Regions from separate parts of the Homo sapiens genome. Here region 1 is linked to region 2. Evidence: promoter capture Hi-C in 16 types of primary human blood cells and fetal thymus (Javierre and others, 2016). All regions are on one chromosome and are shown on one strand. The core of a region is centred on a gene start or on the middle of the fragment in contact, and the rest is flanking DNA. Distances in the headings are between cores, read along the strand shown.

Region 1 (3,605 bases), core at 778-3,277, 790 kb after region 2:
ATCATGGGGATGAGCCTCGCCCAGTACTCAACTCTCAGTTCCTACCCTCAAGGAGGCTGGGGCAGGGGTCTGTGGTCATCTTGGAGACCCTAGTTGTGCCCTGGGTTGGGGAGTGTGCTCATGCCCCTAGACATGGCACCTGCCATTTTCTCTGCCAGGATCCTCCACATCCTGTCCTCGCCATTAACATTTTCGGTTGACCAACTCCTCTGCATCCATCTGCTGCAGACATGGCCCATCCCCTGCAATGACCCCTTTGCAGATATGGGTCCCCTTTTATAACCTCGCTCACCATTGCTCATAAGCTTCATTTGCACGAAAATCATTTCTGTTTTATGCACCACGGCATCTCCAGTACTAAGCATGTGCCTAATGTACAGTATATACAAAAAAGCTGTTGCTAAAATGGAGCCCAAGTATTAAGAAGGACCCTTGACAAACAGAAAACCATAGTGGGACATCTGATCATTCCAGCCAACCTAAACCCCAGCCATCTGCCGCTGAGCCTTCTTTTACTTGCTCACCTTTCAAACGTGGAATCCCTTCTTGTCCCAAAATCACTGAGCCTGAACTTCCTCATCTTCCAAATGGAGACAATAACAGTGCCCACTCCAGAGGGGTTGGGGGTGATTCACAATAAAAGCTAGCAGTCATAATAATTACCAGTTATCAAGCCCTCACTATGTGCCAGGCCCTCAGTACCTTTCTGTTAAGCCTCTCAACCTCTCACTCATTAAATTCTTACAAAAACATTATTATTTCTGCCTTCTCAATGAATATAAACTGAGTCTGAGGGAAGTTAAGTAACGTGCCCTAAGGCACATAAATAAATAGGAGGTCTGGGTCTCCATACGCTGAAAGACCATACTCTTAACCTCTGAAGCACACTGACAAAGCAATCAGCACAGTGCCTGGCACATAGTAGGTGTTACATAAATATGAGCTGAATCAGAACCTCTGGACATGAAGGCCCCATCGAGGCCGCACTGCCTTGTCCCCACCAGAAGTCCTTTTGTTAGCTAATATTTAAACCACTTCCATCTTCAAAAGCACATCTATCAATCAGTGTTCCTGCTGCTTTCTGTGGGACCAGGTGGGCAAAAGGCAGAATTGTATGGGAGGGGCTGGGAGGCATGTCCCTAAAACGATGTGAGAATGAGTCGATTCCACAGCAAGCAATTGTGGAAAATCTGTTCTGGATAAGGCATTGATCCAGTCCTAGAGAACATGAACTAGACCTACCCTTCAAGTTGCCTACCATCCTACTGGAAAGGCCAGTAGACACAGGGGCTCCTCCCTGCCCAGCCCCTCCCTATTCACTCTCCTTTTGGGAGGAACACCCTGACTTCACTGTGAGGACTATTCCTACCCCCAAGATGCCTTTTGAAAGAGACCAAGATACTTCACCCTCTCCCATGCCAACAGGCAGGCACACAACTCTAGAGCTAGCCCTGGAGATGCTCTTTCTAAGGTTTCAAGAACCATCCCAGCAAAGTGTTCTTTTGGGAGCCCACAGACACATGATGTGTATGCACACAGATGGGGCCTCTTGAGAAGTCATTCCATGCATGGCTCCCCCATTTCTATCCCTGTGTCTTTCTCACACTCCTAAATAACTATCAGTTCAAACCAGAAAACCGAGTCTCACTTTGCTCAGCTATTCATTTTCCCATTTCCAAAAAAAGCCAAGGCAGTGTTGCTGCTGCTTCTCTCTCACACTGCGTGCCTTACACTCAGTCATCTCCTCCATAAAATGGGCCTACTTCACTTGACCGGTACTAGTTGAAATGCAGTCTTCAGGACCCACATAGATGTCATTTTTATAATAACTTCGTCAAACACCACAAAAATACAATATCAAATTATTGTGGAGCTTCATCCCATTTCAGGGGAGGGATTCAGTAAGGATAACATTGACCTACTTTGCACAAAGGTGCAGGAAGTCCAGCTTCATTCTCTGCCAAATAATGTTCACACCTACAAACTATTTACCTGCCACTGTCCATGCTACACAATGACAGTCAGTATATAGCCTAACAAAAGGGAAGGTCATTCATTGTCAATGCCCCAGACATAGCAAGCAGAGACTGCAAGCCAGGAACTGCTGTGTTCCCCTCTGTGTCCTCAATATCTAGGAAAGGATCTGGCTCTATAGTAGTAGACTTCCAATAAATATTTGTTGAGCTTAATTTTATAAAAAATGATGACTATCGTAAGTCTTAATTTGTATAAGAATTATTCCTTTCTTACCTATCCACCCACTACCTGGCCCAATATCTACAAGTTGCTGAAGTCGGGCAGTCTACCCAGATTCCACTCTGGTCCAAGTTGCCTCTGTACTTGTGGCTAAGACCACAAATCCATGGAGGCAATACCATGCTGTATGAATGGCCTCCCACCTATAGATACAATGTCATCCCACTTCATTTTATTGCCCCCACCACCACCCCATGAGATAAGCTAGAAATTTTGCAGGAGAGGAAAACAGAAACCAACAAGAACTCCCCAAGTTTCCACAGGTCACAAAGGCCCCACCCAAGTTTCAACCCAGGTACTTGGATCCAGTGGCCAATGCTGCTTCCACTGGACCACGCCTGTTTCCACATTTGTCAAATCTATGGAAATATGTGGTAAGGAAGAAAACACTCTTAGCCCTGGCATTGTGATGCTTCCTTTCTCTGGAATGTAAAGCCTTGGGGGAAACTAGCTCAGATAGCAGATTGCTCAAATGTCGTGGAAGGTCTGGTCGGGGAGCTAATCAGAACAATTTGAATGTGCGGCTAAGCAAGGACACTCCTTCCTGGATCAAGCGTTGCTTTGATGGCAATACTTTATAAGAACCATTCCCTTACAACAAAACTGTCAAATCCAGCAACCACAGGCCAGAAACATCCCTGCGGAACCCCGCCAAGCTGCTTTCTGATGTACTGTACACACAAATACCAATATTCCCCAGATGTTCTCCATGTAAAACATTTGGTTTGAGACACTGCTCTTCTTTCCCAAAAACTCTTACATTTGTTTAATGGACTCATACAGTTCAGCTAAAATATCCTGGAGCAGACATCTGAAGCCAGCCCGGCTCTAATGTGAGCATCCCATCTGCAGAAAAGACGAACAAGTAAATAAGACCATCCTTCCCAAGATTTATGCTCCTTGCATCTTTAAGCAGGTCATAAAATGTAAGCTATGTAAGGATAATAATGCAAGTTGCTTTCAAGTGTATTTCTGAGTCCATCTCAGTATTAATCTAAGACTGATGTTCCAACAGAGACTGGGTCTGGCATGCTAATAAGGGGACTAAATTCTACTTCTTACTCCCTCAAAAAAGAAATCTAAAAATCTGTCACTTGAGCAACATAGATGACTGAGATAAAGGTAGGTTTTTCCTGGTTTTAATTATCCAAATATAGCAATAGCTTCTTTATGCCAAAACCACTATCTCTTAACCTGTAGTGTAAAACACAGGTAAGAGGTAGCAAAATAGAAAATACACTTGACCTTGAGTCAAGAGACCCAGCTCAGCCACATCCTAACTGAGTGACCCCGACCAGCCCTATTTACTCCAAGGTGGCTCATCCTGTTACCCAGAAAACACGACTTCA
Region 2 (3,190 bases), core at 278-2,777:
AAAGGCCATGTTCAAAAACCTGCCAAGTCCTTGATTCTGGTTCATATTTTTATTTTTATGTAAACACAACAGTATGGTTTCAGGGAAGTCTGTTTTTTTTTTGTTTTGTTTTGTTTTTTTGAGACAGAATCTCGCTTTGTCACCCAGGCTTGAGTGCAGTGGTGCTATCTCGGCCCACTGCAACCTCCACCTCTCAGGTTCAAGTGATTCTCTTGCCTCAGCCTCTTAAGTAGCTGGGATTACAGGTGTATGCCACCACACCCAATTAATCTTTGTATTTTTAGTAGAGACAGGGTTTCACCATGTTAGGCTGGTCTCGAACTCCTGACCTCGTGATCCGCCCGTGTCAGCCTCCCAAAGTGCTAGTTTACAGGTGTAAGCTACCATGCCTGGCCTTAGGCAAGTCTTTTAACTAGCATCCCAGCATCCTCTGGGACTCTATGGCACCTGTATTCCTCTGTTAACATTCCTTCTATATTGTAATTAATTTATTTTAATCTATCTGCCTGGTTAGACTGTCTCCCACATATTTGTATCCCCGGAACTTAACAAAGGACTTGGCACAGGCTAGGCTCCCTACAAATATTAAGTGAATTTAAAATGGAGCTTTAATTCCTGGCTTGAAGTCACCTCACAAAACATTTAGTGAGTCTGTATTACAAGCCAGGAGGACGCTATGAAAAATCAGATAGTCTTTCCCTTTAAGGAATTTGTATTCATTTCTATTAGAGTTAATAATAATAATGATAATAGCTGATATTTACTAAAGATAGGGAACTTTGTTAGGTACTTTATATGTACCTGAGTTACTGTCATTTTATAGGTGAAACAAGGGATGTACCCAATGGGTTAAGTTACTTTCCTGAGGTCACGCAGCTATCACGGGGCAGAACGAAGACTTTAACTCAGACAGTCTGACTGCAGTAACGCTGGCCCAACTATCATGTTGAAACGTACAGCACCGTGCCCATCCACAGTTCTCTCATTTATCAGAGAGGAGGTCCTGAATCCAAGTTATTGAAATCGTTGCAGACATTTGTTTTAAAGAGGAATAGGTCAAGATGACCAATCTGGGGAAGAACTTTTGCCAGGCAGTGCGTATGGGGAACAGAGCTGCGTTGGCCTTCTGTTAAAGCAGCTGGGGATTTCGGTTTTGGCTTCAGACCTGCACAACATTCAGTCAATAGCATTTATTGGGCGTCCACTGTGCAGGGTGCCCCCTGCTACTTCCTCTCCTCCCCACATCCTGGGGCAGGGAGGGGAAGTGAGGAAAGAAAAGCAAAGACAAGGCGAGGAGGATGCTGAGGGTGGGCAGGTGGGCACCCCCACCCCGCTGCGCCGGCCACGCCCCTTGCCGCTCCCTCGCCCCGGGGCCCACTTTAAACTCCCGCCCCTCGTAATAACGACCAATGGCCGACCGCGAAGCGCGCAGGAGGCTGGGGATTGGCCAGTGCCGAGGTTGCTGGGGCGACGGGTGGGTCCGGCGGGTCCCCGGGCGGGGCGGGGCCGGGGCGAGGGGTGCCGGGTGGTTTCCGCCCGGCAGCCCGCAGCCCGCTGCGCCCCGGGCCGCGTCTCCCGGCGGTGGGAGGGGGCGGCCCCCACTCGGTTCCTGGCCCCTCGCGGCCCCGTCAGCCTCCCGCTCGGGGTGCGCCGCCCTTCGTCTGGGTCTCCGCCCCCAGGACCCGCGGCCGAGAGCTCCGGAGCGCGGCTTCCCCGGCCGGCTGCGCGATGGGCTGCGGGAACTCCACCGCCACCAGCGCGGGCGCGGGCCAAGGTGAGTCCGGCGGGAGGCGGGGGCCGGCGGGGGCGGGCGGGAGAGGCGGCGGGAAGGAAGGGTGCAGGGATCTTGGGTGGGGGGCGCGCAGCCCCCTCTCCCCGTCCCCATTTTCGGGACAGGAGCAGACCGCCCGTTTCTGGAAAGACCGAAAGCGTGGCAAGTCCCCCGCGCGGGGGCGGTTGCGCCTGGAGCAGTCGAGCCTGCGGGGCGTCTCTGCCGAGGGAGCGCGGGGAGGACTGTCGCGGGCTCCCCTGCAGCCGCCGGGGCTCACCTGCAGCTGGCGGGTCTCAGGGCTCTCCTGGGGGAGAGGATTCCCGGACGTGGTCCCCGGCCGCTCCCCCACCTCCCACACTTGCTCCTCCAGGCCTCTCCCCCATCTCCTCGGAACCAAGGCGCTGCACCTGGAAAAGTGCAGCAGAGCAAGACAGGACTTTTCGGGCAGTGGTGGTGGGGCAGGAAGCGGGGAAGGGTGGGAGTGGGGTTGGGGAGAACTAGAAGCAGAGCTGCAAAAACGCATCTGTGTCTGCCTTGATGCCGAAGACCGGCTGGGCTGCTCTTAGGATTTCTCTGAGAAGCTGCAGCAGTAAGGATGTTTTACATATGTGAGACAGAGCTTTATTATTAACAGTCTGTTAAGATACTTTTCATTAAACACACACACACACACACACACACACACACACAAATAGAAACTTCTTTTTATACCACTTCATGTTGATTGGCAGGCAAGGTCTTCTAGCTTCCCCGGGCCAGCCAGGCTTTGTGTCAAGTGACTTTTGCCAAAACTCACCCTTCTATTTCACCCTGCCTATGTCTCGGGATTTAAGGTACCCTGGATCTGTTTTGAGTAATAACTGCTGACCTATTTCAGTGTCCTTTTGGATAAAGAGCTCCTATCTCCTCCAATTGAAGTCAACCAGATGCCACATCCTAGCCTAACCAGCAAATGCAAACAGCAGTCAGAGGCTGCGGTATTTCCTAGGCGGCTGTGGAGGCCCTGGCAATGACTTTGTAACCTTGGGCCTGTCACATCCCTTAACCCAGACGCCGGTAAAAAATGGAGTTTAAGACTCAATTTGAGTCTTGAATTAAATCCTGTCCTGGTGACAATGCAGAGAGCCACAGGAGAGCGAACTTTTTAGATTCATTTAACAGTGGGGAAGGTTAGTGTAGCACCTTATGCTAATGAGGGCAGACGGGCTTCAAACCTGCCTGTGGCCAGAAAGCTCTGCTTGTATGAAACAATGTCAGGGCCACACCCCGCACTCAAATTGTGTCTCAGTCTACTAGGTACTGTGGCCGTATGCAATCCACTGCATGTGTAGCCTACTTAAAAAAGGTGAAGAAAAGTTATCCACATTAAAAAAAATTGTAGGAAGGATTTGTAGCAGATTTCCCTTAAAATGAGGCTAG

The links. The method cuts DNA at HindIII sites, captures the fragments that hold promoters and counts their contacts. A CHiCAGO score of 5 or more calls a contact.
Region 1: a contact is called between a fragment that was not itself captured here and the fragment with the promoter of C12orf75 in region 2, in 1 of 17 cell types (neutrophils). The highest score is 5.1, in neutrophils.

Annotation. Positions count from the first base shown.
Region 1 is chr12:106,115,773-106,119,377 of GRCh38, forward strand. The region is part of intron 1 of NUAK1 (NUAK family kinase 1); the gene reads right to left. Among named protein-coding and RNA genes, the nearest start is that of NUAK1, 21 kb to the right of the region's middle. RefSeq lists an enhancer at 1-573. The HindIII fragment of the contact is 3,448 bases long and covers 304-3,605 here.
Region 2 is chr12:105,329,164-105,332,353 of GRCh38, forward strand. C12orf75 (chromosome 12 open reading frame 75) reads left to right here and starts at 1,528. Exons shown (of 6, transcript NM_001145199.2): 1 at 1,528-1,774. The coding sequence starts at 1,729. RefSeq lists silencers at 1,164-1,823, 1,854-1,953 and an enhancer at 2,610-3,153. The HindIII fragment of the contact is 8,522 bases long and covers 1-3,190 here.